Linked DNA regions of Homo sapiens: region 1 is linked to region 2. Evidence: promoter capture Hi-C in human tissues and cell types (Jung and others, 2019). All regions are on one chromosome and are shown on one strand. Each heading gives the region's core, a stretch centred on a gene start or on the middle of the fragment in contact. The rest is flanking DNA. Distances are from core to core; before and after follow the strand shown.

What was found. Contacts are between HindIII fragments. The study calls those that stand out against the background at their distance.
Region 1: a contact is called between the fragment with the promoter of CAPN1 here and the fragment with the promoter of SNX32 in region 2, in 1 of the 25 tissues and cell types used here (adrenal gland).

Annotation. Positions count from the first base shown.
Region 1 is chr11:65,176,416-65,183,177 of GRCh38, forward strand. It overlaps CAPN1 (calpain 1), which reads left to right and starts at 5,513. Exons shown (of 22, transcript NM_005186.4): 1 at 5,513-5,598; 2 at 6,286-6,553; 3 at 6,713-6,762. The coding sequence starts at 6,287. CAPN1-AS1 (CAPN1 antisense RNA 1) reads right to left here and starts at 5,419. Exons shown (of 2, transcript NR_145677.1): 1 at 4,810-5,419; 2 at 3,456-4,657. RefSeq lists silencers at 4,832-5,281, 5,883-6,177 and enhancers at 5,200-5,989, 5,990-6,762. The HindIII fragment of the contact is 8,891 bases long and covers 3,087-6,762 here.
Region 2 is chr11:65,828,724-65,835,507 of GRCh38, forward strand. It overlaps SNX32 (sorting nexin 32), which reads left to right and starts at 5,240. Exons shown (of 13, transcript NM_152760.3): 1 at 5,240-5,378. The coding sequence starts at 5,343. It overlaps LOC124902693, which reads right to left and starts at 5,076. Exons shown (of 7, transcript XM_047427980.1): 1 at 2,575-5,076. The coding sequence starts at 4,788. The coding sequence ends at 3,172. RefSeq lists silencers at 4,792-4,921, 5,095-5,307 and an enhancer at 5,232-5,321. The HindIII fragment of the contact is 13,089 bases long and covers 2,541-6,784 here.

The DNA of each region.
Region 1 (6,762 bases), core at 4,263-6,762, 650 kb before region 2:
AAATACTCCTTTAAGATGTTAATTGTAAATGTTTTCTTCAGTCCATCATTTTGACATAACTGTATGGATTTTTAATGTAGTAAAAAATGCAATTTTATGACTTTTGGGTTTTGTGTCATAGTTAAAAAGACTGTTTCCACACTGAGATGATACAAAAAGTTTCTCCTTTAGCTCCTGGCTGTATTTTTTTTTTTTTTTTTTTGAGATGGAGTTTTGCTCTTGTTGCCCAGGCTGGAGTGCAATGGTGCGATCTCCACTCACCGCAACCTCCGCCTCCATCTCCCGGGTTCAAGCAATTCTTGTGCCTCAGTCTCCCAAGTAGCTGGGATTGCTGGTGTGTGCCACCATGCCCAGCTGATTTTTGTATATTTAGTAGAGATAGGGTTTCACGATGTTGGCCAGGCTGGTCTTGAACACCTGACCTCAAGTGATCCACCCACCTCAGCCTCCCAAAGTGCTAGGATTACAGGCATGAGCCACCGTGCCCAGCCAGCTTCTGGCTGTATTTTCGTTTTCATTTTTGTACGTTTAAATATTGAAGGTTAACATTTAATTTTTATTTTTATTTATTTATTTTTTTTGAGACGTTGTCTCACTCTGTCGCCGAGGCTGGAGTGCAGTGGCGCAATCTTGGCTCACTGCAAGCTCTGCCTCCTGGGTTCACGCCATTCTCCTGCCTCAGCCTCCCAAGTGGCTGGGACTACAGGCGCCCGCCACCACGCCCGGCTAATTCGTTTTGTATTTTTAGTAGAGATGGGGTTTCACCGTGTTAGCCAGGATGGTCTTGATCTCCTGACCTCGTGATCCACCTGCCTCAGCCTCCCAAAGTGCTGGGATTACAGGCATGAACCACCGCGCCTGGCCTATTTTTTATTGATTTTTTAGAGATGGAGTCTTGCTTTGTTGCCCAGGCTAGAGTGCAGCGGTGCTCACTGAGGCCTTGAACCCCTAGGCTCAAGAGAGCCTCCCACCTCAGGCTCCGAAAATGCTGGGATTACAGGTGGTGTGAGATACCACACCAGACCTAGAGTTTTTATTTTTTAATTTTTAAAAAAATTTTTATTTATTTTTTTGAGACGGAGTCTCACTCTTTTGCTCAGGCTGGAGTGAAGTGGTGCAATCTCGGCTCACTGCAACCTCCGCCCCCTGGGTTCAAACAATTCTCCTGCCTCAGCCTCCCGAGTAGCTGGGATTACAAACGCCTGCCACCCACCATGCCCAGCTTTTTTTTTTTTTTTTTTTGTATTTTTAGTAGAGACGAGGTTTCACCATATTGGCCGGGCTGGTCGTGAACTCCTGACCTCAGGTGATCCATCTACCTTGGCCTCCCAAAGTGCTAGGATTACAGGTGTTAGCCACCACACCCAGCCTTTTTAAATGTTTTTTTCATTAGGAACAACATATTCCAAACCTATAAATTGAGTTCATCTGTAATTTTTTCTAAGATACAAATTATGAATCCAACTTACTTTTTTTCCAGATTGCTCCCTTTTCTTCCTAATGTCTTTTATTAACTCATCTTTTCTCAACAGATTAGAAATGGTACTTTTATCATCTACTACATTCCTGCCTGTATTTGAATCTGTTTCTAAATTTCTCTGTCTTCTATTGATCTCTATGTGTCAGTAACCCTCTTTAATTATTACCTTTTAATGATAGATTTGTTGTGTTTTAATATCTGGTAGGATTAGTCTATACTCATTATGTCTTTTATTTTCAGAAGTTTCCTACTTGTTTAATTTGCCATATGACCTTTAAATCAGCTTTTCTAGTCCCTCCTTATCTCCCACCAGAAGACTCTTAAAATTTTTCATTGTGATACACTTAGAGATTAATTTAAGGAGAATTGACATCTATATGAAGCATCTTCATATGAAGACCAAGGTGTCAGCCCCCTTGCCTCTGCTTTTTGGTGGCTAGTGACTCCCAAATTTGTACCTCTATTTTGAGCACAAGGTCTGTTCCTCACCCCTAGGAATCTCCTCTTGGATAGGGGGATCCCAAAGATACCCCATACCCTGATCCCATACTGTCCCTCCAGCTTAGTGCATTCCCCCTTCTCTTTAATCTACTCAGGTGCTCAAGCCAGATCCAGGGTCTGAAGTTGTCTTTGGTCTCTCCTGGTGTCCAAGAGCCATATCTAACCAGTGACTAAGTTCTATTTTTTTTTTTTTTTTGAGACGGAGTTTTGCTCTTGTCGCCCAGGCTGGAGTGCAATGGTGTGATCTTGGCTCACTGCAACCTCCATCTCCTGGGTTCAAGTGATTCTCCTACCTCAGCCTCCCTAGTAGTGGGGACTACAGGAGCCCACCACCACGTCCAGCTAATTTTTGTATTTTTTAGTAGAGACAGGGTTTCGCCATATTGGCCAGGCTCGTCTCTCGAACTCCTGACCTTATGTGATCCGCCCACCTCAGCCTCCTAAAGTGCTGGGATTACAGGGGTGAGCCACTGCGCTCAGCCTGTGGTATATTTGTAATCACTGATGAACCAATATTGACACAATATTATTAATTCAAGTCCATAGTTTACATTAAGGTTCACTCTTAGTGTTGTACATTCTGCAGGTTTGGATAAATGCATGTCATGCATCCGTCATTACAGTATCATACAGAATAGTTTCGCTGTGCTAAAAATGCCCTGTGCTCCATCCCTCTCCTACCCCTCTGAATCCCTGGCAACTGCTGATCTTTTTACCATTGCTAGTTTTGCCTTTTCTAGAACGTCATATAGAGTTATTGGAATCATACAGTATGCAGCTTTTTAATACCAGCCTCTTTTACTTAGCAATATGCGTTTAAGGTTATGCTATGTCTTTTTGTAGCTTGATGGCTGATTTCTTTGTATCGCTAAATTTTAAAGAAATTGCCAAACTGTCTTCCAAAGTGGTGGTGATCATTTTACCCTCTCTTGGTGTATGACAGCTCCAGTTCTTCTATATCCTTGACAACATAACAACACTTGGTATGGTTGATCTTAACTTTTAGCCATTCTAGTAGGTGTTCTTTTAGAAGCAGTCCTTCTAGTGGCTTTAATTTGCATTTCCCTAAGAGTAATGCACTCAGTGTTTTTTAATGTGCCTATTTGCCATCCAGAGATCTTTTTGGATGAAGTGTCTGTTCAAATGTTTTGTCCATTTTTTGACAGGCGCGGTGGCTCACCCTGTAATCCCAGCACCTTGGGAGGCAGAGGCGTGCAGATCACTTGAGGTCAGGAGTTTGAGACCAGCTTGGCTAACATGGTGAAACCCTGTCTCTACTAAAAATACAAAAATTAGCCTGGTGTGGTGGCGGGCGCCTGTAATCCCAGCTACTGGGGAGGCTGAGGCAGGAGAATTGCTTGAACCCAGGAGGTGGAGGTTGCAGTGAGCCAGGATCGCGCCACTGCATTCCAACCTGGGTGATGGAGCGGGACTCCATCTCAAAAACAAAAACAAACACCAGAAAACAAACAAATGTTTTGTCCATTTTTATTGGATTTTTATTCAATTGTAAAAGTTCTTTATACAAGTCCTACATCAGATAGAATTTTTACAAATATTCGTCCTAGTCTATGGCTTATCTTTTCATTTTTAATAGTTTCGTGCATTTTGAGAAACAAAAGCGTTTTATTTTGATGAAGTTCAATTTATTGATTTCTTCTATCATTTACACTTTTTGTGTCATATTTAAGAAATCTGGCCAGGTGCCAAAGCTCACACCTGTAATCCCAGCACTTTGGGAGGCTCAGGCAGGAGGACTGCTTGAGCCCAGGAGTTCATGACCAGCCTGAGTAACACAGCAGGACCCCATTTCTACAAAAAATTTAAAAATTAGCTGTGTGTCGTGGCACGTGCCTGTAGTCTCAGCTACTCAGGAGGCTGAGGTGAGAGGATCTCTTGAGCCCAGGAGTTTAAAGTTACAGTGAGCTGTGATCAGGGCACTGCACTCCTGCCTGGTCAATGAAAGCAAGACCCTGCCTTTAGAAAAGAAAAAAGAAATCTTTTCAAACCCAATATTGTTAAGATTGTCTCCATTTTTAAAAAAAAAAGTTTTATGGTTTGGCCATTTATATTTAGGTGTGTAATCCAGTTTGAGTTAAATTTTGATGGTGTATCCTAAATAGTTATCAAATCCATCTACTTCTGCCTGCCACCTCTCTAGTTTAAACCACCCTTCTCTGTCCCTGGACACCTGCGCAGAAAGCCTAGGAGCTGGTTCCACCCATCACTCACCAGGTTAGGTATTTCAGGCAAGTCACACCCTCTCAGGCCTCAGTTTTCCTCTTTTGTTAACTGAGGGTGAAAGTGGGGTTAGATTAGATCAGCGGCTCTTAACTTTTGAGGGGTCGTGGGCCCTAGAGTCCTGGGAACGCTATGCAGTTTCCTCAGCAAAATGCTTGCATCCACAACATGCAAGACTGCAGCAGCTGCTGGGCTGGGGCTGCGAGACCAGCGAAAAGCCCTGACTTGGGGGGGTCTCGGGAGTCTCTGCAGTCTCCCCACCCACACCCCCGGCCTCCGCGCCGAATCCTGGCCCCCCAACTTCTTGCAGCCCGTGAAGCAGGATCTCAGGGTCCTGGGGGTGGGGAGAGGGGGCTGCCGTCCTGCTCGCAGCCTCTGCCGCCCTCTCCTGGGTAAGGTGACACATGGGCGCTTCCAGGTGGGTGGGCTGAGAGCCTGGGGGAGAGAACAGGGATGTCCACCTCTCTAAGTTTCCAGGTTCAAGAAACCCCAGAACGTTAGAGAAAGATGGGCTCCCACAATTGCCCAACCCCATCCCATAGGATGCACGCATGCGGAAAGTCGGGCCGAACGGGGCAGGGACTTACCCAAGGTCACGCAGCGAGCCCGGTCCCCCTGCGTTCCCCGGGGAGCGCTGAGCCGGGACGCGGCGGTGGGGTGGGGAAGGGGAGTGGCGCGGCCCTGCGGGGTGAGGCTGCCGTTTGCTGAGTGTCCGGCAGGGGTCTGCTCGCTGCCAGCCCGGCCCCTCCTCAGAGCAGCTGCCGCAGCCCGAGGTAATCTCGGCCCCGCGCCGGGGCTGGCTGGGAACGGCGGGAGCAGCTGCGGTCGCGCGGAGCGAGGGGAGCTGGGGACCGGGCGGGCCCGGGGCTGCGGGAGGCGGCGCCGCCGCACAATCGCCCCGGAATGCCCGCCAGGGCGCGCGTGGGGTGCGGCCGTCCGGCCCTGCAACTCGAGCTGCTGCCCCTGGTTAAAAATACCCCCTGCCCGGCCCTCCCCCTCCGTTCCCCGCGGTGCCCTTCCGCCGCGCCCCAGCCCCCCCATCCCCCCCCGCGCTGGCCCCTCCCCGGGGACTGCTCTGCCTTTTACTAATTTGTCCTCTCGCGGAATTGGCCCCCGGCCTGCGGAGGGAGGGGCGGGGAGACACCGTGAGTAAGAGATAGTCAGAGACCGTGCCGGAGAGATAAGGGAGAGCCGAGAGGAAGCGGGGTAGGAGCCCCAGGAGGAGGAGGAGGAGAAGGAGAGAGGGAGGGCGGAGGGCGGAGGGGCGGCGGGAGGAGGGCGGGGAGGAGCGCTCTTCCTGGTTGGGCCCTGCCCTGAGCTGCCACCGGGAAGCCAGCCTCAGGGACTGCAGCGACCCCCAAACACCCCTCCCCCAGGTAAGAAGCTGGGTAGCCGAGCCGGGATTCCTTGACCCTGGCCACTGCTCCTGGGCTGAGGGGCTGCCCCAGCACGGTCCCTTCTCGGGGGCCTCTGCGTTCCTGGAGCAGGGGTGGGGGCTGGCGGAGCGGCACAGCCCAGGCGCCTGTCCCAGCCTGGCTCACCGCTGTCCCCAGGGGCTGGGCTAGGGCCCACCAGCTCTGATATCGAGCCTGCTGCGGGGGCCTGAGGAGGGGGACCCCGACCGTCTGGGGTTTTCAGCCCACGGCAAGGGGCCGGTGCACCAGGAGCTTGGTTAGTTTGGGGAGGGGGTTGCAGGCCTGTGAACAGGATCAAAGAGGCCTTCCCTGCTGTGTCCCACCTGCCCAGTTCCTTGTGCTGTCTGGAGGCTCCGCCCTGCCCCACCTGACCTGCTGGCTCACTACAGAGCTGCAAGCCCCTGACAATGGGATCCGGGAAAGGAGAGGTGGCCGGCACGCCTGGGAACTGGGAAATCCCTTTCCTGGATTCACTGGGAGCACCGGGAGGTGGCTGAGAACCCTACTTCTGTGAGGGGAGCAGTGAGGCAGGGAAACCCTAGGTTTGGGGATGGATAAGCAGGGGCAGGAGAGCAGAGCTTGCAGGCAGGAGCCCAGGTTCTAGTCTTGGGAAGGCCTGGGTTCTGAGCAGGCCCATCTGTCCGGCAGGATGTCGGAGGAGATCATCACGCCGGTGTACTGCACTGGGGTGTCAGCCCAAGTGCAGAAGCAGCGGGCCAGGGAGCTGGGCCTGGGCCGCCATGAGAATGCCATCAAGTACCTGGGCCAGGATTATGAGCAGCTGCGGGTGCGATGCCTGCAGAGTGGGACCCTCTTCCGTGATGAGGCCTTCCCCCCGGTACCCCAGAGCCTGGGTTACAAGGACCTGGGTCCCAATTCCTCCAAGACCTATGGCATCAAGTGGAAGCGTCCCACGGTGAGAGGGGCCATCCTGGGTGGGACTCGGCTAAGCCAGATCCTGGATGAGGAGTAGGGATGGGACTCCATGTCCCTGGTGGGGAATGGGGTCTGGGGTGGCCTGGTGCCAATTTCTGGGAGGGGCTGGCCGAGGAACAGGACTCTGGGTCTCTCGTAGGAACTGCTGTCAAACCCCCAGTTCATTGTGGATGGAGCTACCCGCACAGA
Region 2 (6,784 bases), core at 3,990-6,489:
TCAAGATCTTTAACTTAATTACATCTTTTGCCATATTAAGGTAATATTCACAGGTTCCTGGGATTAGGAAGTGAATATATCTTTGGCGGACCACTTTTGTGCCTACCTTAAGGAGCAAGAAAAATGGGACAGTACTAGAGGGAAATGTAGGGTACAGAGAAGTTTTTTGTTTTTGTTTTTTAAGATGGGAAAAGTTGGCGGGGTGCAGTGGCTCATGTCGGTAATCTCAGCACTTTCGGGTAGAGGCAGGAGGATCGCTTGAGCCCAGAAGTTCAAGACCTGCCTGGGCAACATAGAGAGACCTCATCTCTACTTAAAAAAAAAAAAAAACTAGTCTCTTGTGGTGGTGTACACCTGTAGTCCCAGCTACTTGGGAGGCTGAGGAGATTGCTTCAGCCTAGAAGGTTGAGGCTGCAGTGAGCCATGATCATGCCACTGCACTCCAGCCTGAGTGACAGAGTGAGACCCTATTTCAAAAACAACAACAATGACAAAAAAAAAAAAAGTTTGGAGATGGAGTGGTAACCAACTTGGCAGAGTGGAGGCAGCTGGCACTTAAGTGCTTAAAGATAATAGAAACGAAAAGTTAACAGTTCACTCTACTTATCCCCAAAAAAGTTCAGGACATGGAGGGACCAGATAGCTCAGATGGAAGGAAAAAGGCATAGAGCTGAGAACAGAGAAATTATTTAGGAGTCTGTATATAAAGCAGTTAAGCTTACAAATCCCCTCCCCAACCTTTTTTAGCTGGGCACCAACTCCCATAGCACAGCAGAGGGTTTACTCTTTGGGGAAACTGAATCTGAGAAGCACCAACTCAGGGACACCAGGCACAGCTGAAGGTGGAGTGAGCACTGAGCTGAAAACAAGGGACTGGGTAAAAACATATGTACCAAGCGGTGGCTCCACAACCGTCTCCCCTGACCCTGCTGCTGTAACCTCTATAGCAGGGGCCATGCAGATATCCCCCAGACAGATTGGAGAATTCTCTGTAGAAACCAGACGGTCCCTTCAGTGAGATTTACAGATTCTGATATTTGGGTGTACCCAGTAAAATATCCTGCTTGCTTCAGTCGCCACAGAGTGAAGCCCATAGATCAACAAGCCCCAAATTGTGCTTCCAATTGCCTCTGCTTAATGCCTCATTCTTAAATATGGACAGCCGAAGATCAAACATTTGAGGAAAACTTCCAACAATACACACACAAAAAAAATGGAGCGGGGGGAAGCAGGGGAGGGGAACTCAGGGGAAACAATAAGAAAAGCAGAAGAAAACTTAAAAACTGGAAAAATCCTTGGAGAGCTAAGAGAACAGACTCATGAAACAAGAACAGAAATACTATATATAAAAAAAGAAGCACGGCCGGGCTCGGTGGCTCACGCCTGTAATCCCAGCACTTTGGGAGGCCAAGATGGGTGGATCACCTGAGGTCAGGAGTTCAAAACCAGCCTGACCAACATGGTGGAACCCCGTTTCTACTAAAAATACAAAAAATTAGCCGGGTGTGGTGATGCATTCCTGTAATCCCAGCTCATGCAGTGAGCACAGGAGGCTAAGTCAGGAGAATTGCTTGAACCGGGGAGGCGGAGGTTGCAGTGAGCCAAGATCACGCCATTACACTCCAGCCTGGGTGACAGAGCAAGACTCCAGACTCCATCTCAAAAAAAAAAAAAAAAGCAATCAATGAACAAGAGAGTTAAAATGTAAAATTTCAATAAGAAAGAAAGATACAGTTAATAAAGTTGAAAGTGGATCTCATGAAAATAGAGATGAGATTGGTGGTTACTGGAGGCCAGGAAGGGTGGAGGAAATAAAGACATGTTAATGAGTAGAAATGTACAGTTAGATGGAAGAAATGGGACCCAGTGTTCTATAGATCAGTAGGGTGACTGTAGTTAACAATAATCTATTGTACATTTCAAAATCACTAGAAGAGAATGATTCGAATGTTCCTGGCATAAAGAAAAGATAAATATTTAAGATGATGGATATCCCAATTGCCCTGATTTGATCTTTACACATTATATGAATGTATCAAAATATTACAGGTACCCCCAAAATACGTACATCTACTATACATCAATTGTTTTAAAGTTAATGAAATTGCCCAGAGAATACAATAAAAAGAGACGGGCAAAAGGAGAAAAAAAGATAACAGCTATAATTCAAGGTCTAACATCCTCTAGTAAGGCCAGAGAAAATGGGGTGAGGATACAGGTTGAGTTAGGGAGTGGTAGCAAACAGGTAATTTACATAGAAAAAAACACTATCTATAGAATTAAAAGAAAAGAACAAAAAGACTTATAAATAGCAATACTTGGAAGTTAGAAGATAGTGAGGGAATTAGCCAGGCATGGTGGCACATGTCTGTAATCCCAGCTACTTGGGAGGCTGAGACAGGAGAATCGCTTGAGCCTGGGAGGCAGAGGTTGCAGTGAGCCGAGATTGCGCCACTGCACACTCCAACCTGGGCAACAGAGCAAGACTGTCTCAAAAAAAAAAAAGAAAAAAGAAAAAGAAAGAAAGAAAGAAAGAAAAGAAAAGAAAAGAAAAGGAAATAATGAAGGACATACCAACAAACACAATCACCATTATGGCACGTGGCTTCTTATGTTTTTTCTCACTTCTTTCTTATCTCCTCTCTTGCTTTTGTCACTTGGGAGCCCTTCATTCTTCAGGCTCCTCTTTCAGAAATTTTGCCCACTTCAGTCTGCACCTTCTTCCACAACTCTCAAAATCTACCCTTTATCCTGCTGCAATTCTCCATCTCATAGACCCCATTTAGTGTCAGACTAAATCCTTCTAGCCCATCCTCCATCCTTTTCTCAAACATTTCCCTATGAGCTCCCAGTCACACCTTTTCTCCCAATATCCAAGTGTCCTCTGTCAACACATTACCAAGTCTTCTCTTTCTCCTCCATATGTTCCCACTTCCCTCTGAACCAGAGACTCCTCTTTGCTTCCTTTGATCCTGGCCTCCGCCTTCAGCCCCAGAAGCTCTTTTCCTCACTTCCACTCTCTTTTATTTTAGGCTCAGACTCTCTCCTTTCCTTTCTCAACTTTACCCCTTCAGTGTCAATAATGTTCTGTCTGGCTCTAATTTCTCCTCTGACTTTCAGTACTTCTCCTGTCTGCCTCTTTCCTTCTTTGGTGTCAATCCTTCATCTGCCTCATTCACTGGTACCTTCACCTATAATATCTTTTTTTTCCATAGAAACAGATTCATCAGTGATATCTTTCACTTCACTCAAGATGCCCCCCTCAACTCCCACTCCTTTCTCAGTCCCTTGTAGTTCCTCACTCCCTTTGACACTTTCAAAAGGAATTTCCATCTCATCATGAGTAAATGCCATCACTCTTTCATCGCCAGTAACTTCTACCACTTTTTCAATGTTCTTCTCATTTATGCTCCCCATTCTTGAACCCTCCAATTTCTCCCCGCTGGTCCCTAACTTCTCCTCACTAGATCTCAGCTTCTCCGCACTTGACCCCAGCTTCTCTCCACTCAACCTCAGCTTCTCTCTGCTTGATCTCAGCTTCTCTCCACTGGTTCCCAGCTTCTCTCTGCTTGATCTCAGCTTCTCTCCACTCAACCTCAGCTTCTCATCACTTGTTCCCAGCTTCTCTCCACTCAATCTCAGCTTCTCTCTGCTTGATCTTAGCTTCTCTCCACTCAACCTCAGCTTCTCTCTGCTTGATCTTAGCTTCTCTCCACTCAACCTCAGCTTCTCATCACTGGTTCCCAGCTTCTCTCCACTCAACCTCAGCTTCTCTCTGCTTGATCTCAGCTTCTCTCCACTCAACCTCAGCTTCTCTCCACTCAACCTCAGCTTCTCATCACTGGTTCCCAGCTTCTCTCCACTCAACCTCAGCTTCTCTCTGATTGATCTCAGCATCTCTCCACTCAACCTCAGCTTCTCATCACTGGTTCCCAGCTTCTCTCCACTAGTTCCCAGCTTCTCTCCACTCCATCTCAGCTTCTCTCTACTTGATCTCAAATTCTCTCCACTTGATCTCAGCTTTCTGCCACTGGACCTCAGCTTCACTCCACTGGACCCCTGCTTCTCTCCCCTGCACACCAGCTTCTCACTAGTAGACCTCAGCTTCTCTACACTTGATCTCATCTTGTCTACACTAGACCTCAACCCCTTCTCATCCTGTCCCAGTTTATATCCATTGGATCTCAAGTCCTCTCCACTGGTCCCTACCTTCTCCCCAGCAGACCTCAACCTCTCTTCAAACCCAGACCCCTTCATAGGCCCTGCTGTCATCCCTGCACTCTTAGATTTAGCCTTTATTTCGTGTTTGACCTCTTGCTTTCCCCAAATACCCCTTGGGCTGTCTTTCCCCAAATCTGCTGAAGCTTGTGATGCACTTGCTCCACGGTATAGCAGCTTCACATCCATCCTTTCCTGACTCGGGCCTGACTTCCCTTTCAAGACCGTCTTTTCCACATCTTCCAGTCTCCAGTACTCAGACTCCAGCTTCGGCTTTCGAGTGTTTCTAGTCAGGAGCTCCACTCTCTTCCCAATTACCATGAGCCCGTTCCAAGGTCCCCAGGTTTTCTCTCGCAGCATCGGCACCCCCTTGCAGCCCCGCTCCAGTGGCGACCGTTCGCGGACCCCGGCCTCGCTTGGGGCGCCCTGGCCGCGGGACTTGTGGAGCTCCCTAGTCCTCCTAGGCTGCTTACCCCGCCGCTCCCTCCCGTCCAAGAGCGGAAACCTAAACAGACCCCCCTTCTCCACAGACATTGTCCCCTGCCCTCGCCCCTGGTCCACCACCCACATCCCCACCACTGCTTCCCATTCCCTGTCCCCACCCTGCCACCCTCACCCTCTTCCCCTTCCCCTTCCCCTTCCCCACTGCCTGGTGGGCGCCAAACTGGGCGAGTGCGCACGCGCAGGCCGCACGTGGCCGTTGGAAGGAGGGGCCCGGAACGGCGGCACGGGGTTGTTGTGGGGGTCAGTCCCCCGGGGACTGGAGGGAGACGCGGCACGCGGCCTCTGCGACCCTATGAACTCTGACCCCAGCTCCCACACTGTCGCCTATCACCGGCCCACTCTCCGTGCCGCGTGTCCCTTAAAAGCTGGGGCCTGGGACAGGAACGACAGACAATGCAGCCAATGGCGTCACGCGCGGTGCCCCGCTACCCAATCGAAAGGCGTGGCTGAGGGAAACGCGGTGGGAACCGCCCCCGACTCCAGGCGACTCCTTGGCCGGGCGGGGGAGAGCGTCCCCGTCAGCTGAGAGCATCCTCACTCGGTCAGTTCCTCGGGCGAGTTACGGGGACGACCTGCGGGAGCACGCGGGCAGTGGCCGGACGCTGAAGCCCAGGAGAGCGATGGAGACGTATGCGGAGGTTGGGAAGGAGGGCAAGGTAGAGAAAGGATGAAGACCCCCACCCCAGCCTCCCCTCACTCCATGAAAGCCCGTGATGCCCAATCATGCGGTGGTGTGTGTGTGTCTGTGTGTGTGTGGTCTGCCTCTGTGTGTTTCTGTGTGTGTCTGTGTGTGTATAGTCTGCATGTGTCTGTTTCTCTGTGTGTCTGTGTGTATGTCGATGTGCCTGCATATGTCTGTGTGTGTGTGTATCTGTGTATGTCTGTATTTGTGTCTCTGTGTGTCTGTGTGTCTGTGTGTGTCTCAGTGTGTGTCTGTGTCTTTGTGTGTCTCTGTGTATCTGTGTGTGTGTCTGTGTGTCTCCGTGTCTCTGTGTGTGTGTGTATGGCCTGTGTGTGTCTGTGTGTGTGCACGTATGCGTCCATGTGGGTGTTTGTGCGTGCATGTCTGTGTCTGTCTCTGTGTGTGTCTGTGCATGTCTGTGTGTGTGTGTCTGTGTGTCTGTGTCTGTGTATGGTCTGCGTGTGTCTTTGTGTCTGTGTCTGTCTGTGTGTATGGTCTGCATGTGTGCATGTATGCATCTGTGTGTGTCTCTGTGTGTATCTGTGTGTGCACGCATGTGCCTGTGTGTGTCTGCGCAGGTCTGTGTCTCTTTGTGTCTGAGTGTGTGTCTGTCTCTGTGTCTATGTATGGTCTGCGTGCATCTTTATGTCTGTGTGTGTGTGTCTCTGTGTGTGTGTATGGTCTGCGTGTGTCTGTGTGTGTGTGTCTGTGTATTTCTGGGTCTGTGTGTGTGTTTGCATGTGTCTGTGTGTGTCTGTATCCGTGTGTCTTTGTATATCTGTGTGTGTCTATGTCAGTGTGTCTGTGTGTGCATCTGTGTGTGTCTGTGTGCCTGTGTATGATCTGTGTATGTCGTTGTGTGTGTCTGTGTGTGTGTTTCTCTGTGCCTGTGTGTTTGTGTGTGTCTGTGTATCTGTGTGTGTTTCTATGTGTGTCTGTGTGTGCGTGTGTCTGTGTTTGTCTCGTGTGTCTGTGTGTGTGTATGTGCCCATGTGTCTCTGTGTGTATGTGTGTGTCTGCGCAAGTGAGAGAAAGGAGACTTGAGCAAGGGAGTGGGGAGCCTCTGTGGCACCTGTGTGCGGACTGATGAGGATGCCAAGGGAGGCAGGGTTTTGCCTTTGTCCTTACAGATGGAAAGGGACCCGTCACTGTCACTCTTACCCTCCCCAAGACCAACTCAGGCTGTCTTGATGGGGGTAGGTGGGTAGGGGGTGGGAGGTGAGGGCGGGGAGGAGGGCAGGATGTTAGGGATTGAGCAGAGGCTGGCATCCTCTTCTCCTTTCCCAAGGCGAGAGAATCCTGTTCAGCCCTAATGGCTTCACTTGTGTTCTGAGTTCATGTAATGATAAGACCATTTCTTCCTTTTGACTTCCTTCAGCA